Linked DNA regions of Homo sapiens: region 1 is linked to region 2. Evidence: promoter capture Hi-C in 16 types of primary human blood cells and fetal thymus (Javierre and others, 2016). All regions are on one chromosome and are shown on one strand. Each heading gives the region's core, a stretch centred on a gene start or on the middle of the fragment in contact. The rest is flanking DNA. Distances are from core to core; before and after follow the strand shown.

Region 1 (2,700 bases), core at 72-2,571, 1.7 Mb before region 2:
CCTGCCTCAGCCTCCAGAGTATCTGGGATTACAGGCGCCCGCCACCATGCCTGGCTAATTTTTGCATTTTTAGTAGGGACACGGTTTCACCATGTTGGCCAGGCTGGTCTTGAATTCCTGACCTCAAGTGATCTGCTCGCCTCGGCCTCCCAAAGTGCTGGGATTACAGGCGTTACAGGCGCGAGCCACCGCGCCCAGAGAGCACTGAAATCTTATATGAGAATGTTGTTTTAAAGTGTCAGTATTGTTCTTGAATAAGCTTATATTATTTTTTATCATTGAAATAAAAATAGGGAATTTTTAAAAATGCTAATTACTTTTTTCCTCTTCCACTTCTCTGTATTTTACATATTTTCTATGATAAACTTGTATTTTTTCTAGTTGAGTTTCATGACACCTTTATCGACATATAATTCATATACCATACAATTCACCCACTTAAAATGCACAATTCAATAGCTTTTAGTATTCACAAATTGTACACAATCAATTCTAGAACATCTTATCACCCCGAAAAGATCCCCCCTGCCCTACATACCCACTAGCAGTGATTTCCCATTCTCCTGCACCCCCACCACAGCCCCAGGCAATCACTCAAACCACTCATGTACTTTCTGTCTCTATAGATTTACATATTCTGGACATTTCACGTAAATGGAATTATACAATATGCGGTCTATTGCAATTAGCTTCTTTCACTCAGCATGTTTTCAAGGGGTATCCATGTTGTACTATATACTGATACTTCATTTCTTTTTATTGCCAAAGAATCTTCCACTGTACAGATATACCACCTTTTATTTATCTATTCATCAGTTGATGGACATTTGGGCTGTTTCTACTTTTTGACTCCTGTGAATAATGCTGTTATAAACATTTGTGCACGTTTTTGTCTGAACACTTGACAAAAGGTCAGGAGGTCAGGAGTTCAAGACCAGCCTGGCCAACATGATGAAACCCCGTCTCTACTGAAAATACAAAAATTAGCCAGGCTTGGCGGCGGGTGCCTGTAATCCCAGCTACTCGGGAGGCTGAGGCGAGAATCACTTGAACCCGGGAGGTGGAGGCTGCAGTGAGCCAAGATCGTGCCACTGCACTCCAGCCTGGGCAACAGAGTGAGACTCTGTCTCAAAAATAAATAAATAAATAAATAAATAAATAAATAAATAAAATACTTGAGGAAGATTTGTTCAGATTTGTTCTTTGACTCACTATGACTTTCCTTCATAATCTATTAAATTATTTTTGTTTTAAATAAAATACTACTAAAAATGATGCTTTTACATAGGAATCCTTATAAAGCCATAGCTGCTTATAAGAGAGATTTAGGAAGGACATGCAATAACCAACCAAGTCAAACTGATGCTGTGGTTGTTGTCCTTTTTTGAGTAACATATTCCTTGAAAAATCTGATGAAAGTTGAGAATTCCCTCTGAAAAATACACGTATTGTGCTTTGGGAGGCCAAGGCTGGAGGATCGCTCCTGGAGGAGGCCAGGAGTTCTAGACCAGCTGGGGCAACACAGGGAGGCCCTATCTCTGCAAAAAGTTAAAAAAAAAAAATTAGACTGCATACCTGCAGTCCCAGCTACTAGGGAGGCTGAAGTGGGAGGATTGCTTGAGTCCAGGAGTTTGAGGCTGCACGGAGCTATAATCTTGCCACTGCATGGCAACCTGGGTGATAGTGCGACAAGCTGTCTCTAAAAAAAATTTTTTTTAAAGAAAAAGAAAAAACACGAATTTTTGAATAACCATGTTTTCCTCAAGTTAAAATTTATTTATCTTTTTAAAAAATCTTTGGAGCGGCTGGGAGCGGTGGCTCACGCCTGTAATCCCAACACTTTGGGAGGCCGAGGCGGGCGGATCACAAGGTAAGGAGATCGAGACCATCCTGGCTAACACGGTGAAATCCCGTCTCTAATAAAAATACAAAAAATTAGCCGGGCGCGGTGGCGGGTGCCTGTAGTCCCAGCCACTCCGGAGGCTGAGGCGGGAGAATGGCGTGAACCCAGGAGTAGTGGAGCTTGCAGTGAGCTGAGATCACGCCACTGCACTCCAGCCTGGGCAACAGAGCGAGACTCAGTTTTATTAAAAAACATCTTTGGAGCATTATTACTTCTGTAATCAAGAAGGAAAAAAGAGGCAAAGATGTGTACTTCTACCCCCCACCACTTCGAGTTTCTAATAAAATATGCCTATTCTGACCTGTCAGCTTTCCATGGAAAAAACTAAAAGGTGAGGGAAGGCAGAATAATCTATAGAGACATTCTGGGCACATTTTTTCACTTACACTGAAGAGCTGGAGGAAAATGGAAACTCTCCAGCAAAGGCTATACAAAGTACGTGGTTTTACACAAAGCGTTACACAAGTACATGGAAGCTTTAGTTACAAAACAGATATTCTTAGAATATGTTTCCTCAGCCCAGATAAGTGTTCCTGGAGCAGAAATTTTGCTCATAAGGTTTTTGCACTCGCAGCTGTTCTCTTTGAGGCTTCAGGGAAGGCAAGCCATGGACACACAGGTTAAAGCTCTGTTGGCATTCACCGGGCAATCCCTAGGTTTTCCCCAGCTATGCAGTGGAGACAGGAAGGATAAAAAGCCCGCAGGCATCAGAATGCACGAAACTATAACCAACCAAGAGGCCACCTGATATAATAAAAACTAACTTCTTGAATTAAATACTATTTTACTTTAGGTTA
Region 2 (2,700 bases), core at 183-2,682:
ACCACCTTTATGACCTTTAAAAACAGCAGTTATCTCCTACCAAAAGTCCCATTCAGGATTCCAGTGTTTATCACAAAACTGAATCTAGGATTTACTGTGTGTATGCAAAGATCTTTTTTTTTTTTTAAACACTAAGCTTATTCCAGATGGGCAGTGTATGGGACAGTAAAAACAGATAAGGCACCAGTAGTACGTAAACTGACAACCTGTTGGATATTAAGTATGAAAACAATTTATACAATATTTGTTAATATTAACCATATGATCTGATGTCATGGCCAAATTTGGATGGAAGCCCACCAGAGAAGCAAGCAAGAGCAAGAAGTGAGCAGAATTTCCAAGCTGGGAGAATATCTTAAGTATATATTAGGAGCCATTTAGCACACAGTGGGTCTTCTATAAATATTTGCTCGTGATTAGCCAATGTTACGATCTCCCTAGTTTATATTAAACTTTTTTCCTCTTGCATTATTCTTTTCTGAATACCTGTTCTGCCCTGAGGATATAAATTAGGTTCCCTGCTCTTAATAAGGAGCCCAGGAAAAGAGGAAAACAAGATCATTTATTACCTTCCAATATGATAAATGTAACGACGTACAAGATGCCTGGGAAGATGGGGAAAGTACGTAAGTCAGCTTTGGTGAAACACAGGAGCCCTTCCAGGGAGAGCGCTTGGTTTAGCTTTACTATACCAAGAATTTGGGTTTTATCCTTAAAGAGATAGGATGGGCTGCTACGACTGGATGTTAGGCAGAGGAATGAAAACTGTCCAGTTTACAGGCTGGAAAGGGCCAGCGGACAATAGTGGAAGGTGGATTCAGGAGAGTATGGAGACAGGGACACCAGCTAGGGAGGCTACTGGTGATGGGGAAGAAATCTTAACCCTTCATCTCATCGTAGTACAATCAAGTCATCCCTCAGCAATTACTCCTATGTTAAATGTGATGAATACAACGTGTTAAAGACAAGGCACCTGTCCTCAACGGAGCTTTAATCTCTACTATTAGCCTTTACTAACAAATTACAGTGCAGTGCCCTTAGCAGCAAAATTTTCTCGCCAAAGATTCAGTATTGTTAGCTTATTTCATAATGACCTGTAGTAAGTCATTAGTACTACTGGTCCCCTCCTCCCCCTAGTTTTGGTCAATTTTGTCCCGGCCACTTAGATTAAAATGTTGGAGGCTTGGGATAAGGACTAGGAACAGTTAAAATAGTTTCAAGCCCATGGGTGGCAGAGAAGCCAGTGACACGTGCTCCGGGCCTAGGAGCTCCGCGGAGAACGTCCTTACCCACCGCCCACCCGCGGCGCGCGCCCCGCCGACCCCCAGGTTACCTTCCTCTCCTCGGGCTCACCGGGCTCCGGCGGGGCGGCCATGAGGACTACTCCGCGACTCCACCCGCCCTGCACCGCCGGGGTCGCGGAAGCAGAAGCCCGGCTGGCCGCGCCCCTCCCCGTCCCGCCCCCACGCGCCGCCGCCTCCCGCCCTGTTCCGACGCGCCGGCCGCCATTTTAGGGAATGTTCCTAACGCTCCGCAGTGGCCGCACGGGGCCGGGCTGTCATGTCCTTTGTTCCGTCGAACGGGTCACACTTTCTTCCAAGCTCGGCACACAGCCTGCAGGGGCGGGAGAGCGGAAGGAGATGGGTTCGGAAAACAAACCGACTCCTAGATTCCTGGCGAGGTGGGGGCGTAACCGAGCCAGACAGCCCCGCTTCCCGCGCCAGCCCCCTGCTCCGCCCCAACCGCCATTTCTAACCGTCTCCGGCGCGCGTGCTCACACGCACGAGCCTCGGGCGCGCGCCGAGGGGCGGGGCCGCTGCTTTGTCCTGCGGGGTGGGCCCCACCGCGGGGGTCGGCCCGGCCCCAGCCCCCAGCCCGCCCCAGCCCACCGACCCGGAAGGCGCTCCGCGCTGGCTCGGCGGCCCTCGTCCCCTAAGTGTCCTTTGTCCTTCCGGCCACGGGACGAGCCCTTGGTGCCGGGGCAGCCCCACTCTGCACCAGCAGCCATTTAGTCCCCCGCGCCTGCCTTGCGCAAACGGGGCTCCCACGCCCACCCCACTTCCTCCCTTTTATAGTTTCATTACTAAGTGGCTTTAACATAGAACCGCGCAGTTCGCCTAAAGGAGACTGGGGACAAAATGGAGGGAGCAGCTCGCTAATGAACATGCGTCAGCACGTTGGTGTCCGCGGAGAGGGCGCGCGTGTGGCGAAGTCTTCCGGCGTCCCCGAAGGAAAAATGCCTCTGCAACGTGCATTTTTGATGTGAAGTCGTGTTCCACGTTTCACTCCTCCCTAAGACTGCGACATAACGTGAAACAAAATACTGCATATTGTCGAGCTCAATGGAGAACGCGTGCATGCAGGGTCGAGCCCATTTTTCAGCCATCAAAATAATACAATGCAATTTTTTCTAGTATTTATAATTTTTCCCCTTTAACTTTATGCCTCCTTTATGTACTTCTACATTTCACGTTTAGGTTATATGTAACCTAAGGGCACTCCTTAGGAAACTGGACTTGTAGAATATGTCATTGTGCAAAGTCATGCTGCTTCGAATTATGCTGCGCGCTGGCACACAGCAAGCGCTCAGTGTTAACGATGTCGAATTCATATTAAGTACTGTTCATTGGGCGTTTTCTTACTCCGTAAGGACCTTACTTGCATGCCCATTTGATACCTTTCTACAATCCCAGTAAAATA

Evidence for each region. Contacts are between HindIII fragments. The CHiCAGO score rates a contact against its expected background, and 5 or more counts as called.
Region 1: a fragment that was not itself captured here is called in contact with the fragment with the promoter of COX20 in region 2 in 1 of 17 cell types (total CD4 T cells); the score reaches 5.6 in total CD4 T cells.

The regions. Positions count from the first base shown.
Region 1 is chr1:246,573,444-246,576,143 of GRCh38, reverse strand. The region is part of intron 1 of CNST (consortin, connexin sorting protein); the gene reads right to left. Among named protein-coding and RNA genes, the nearest start is that of CNST, 8.3 kb to the right of the region's middle. The HindIII fragment of the contact is 2,120 bases long and covers 262-2,381 here.
Region 2 is chr1:244,834,390-244,837,089 of GRCh38, reverse strand. COX20 (cytochrome c oxidase assembly factor COX20) reads right to left here and starts at 1,432. Exons shown (of 4, transcript NM_198076.6): 1 at 1,334-1,432. The coding sequence starts at 1,375. RefSeq lists silencers at 1,079-1,368, 1,409-1,458, 1,699-2,038 and enhancers at 1,539-1,658, 2,199-2,258. The HindIII fragment of the contact is 7,018 bases long and covers 139-2,700 here.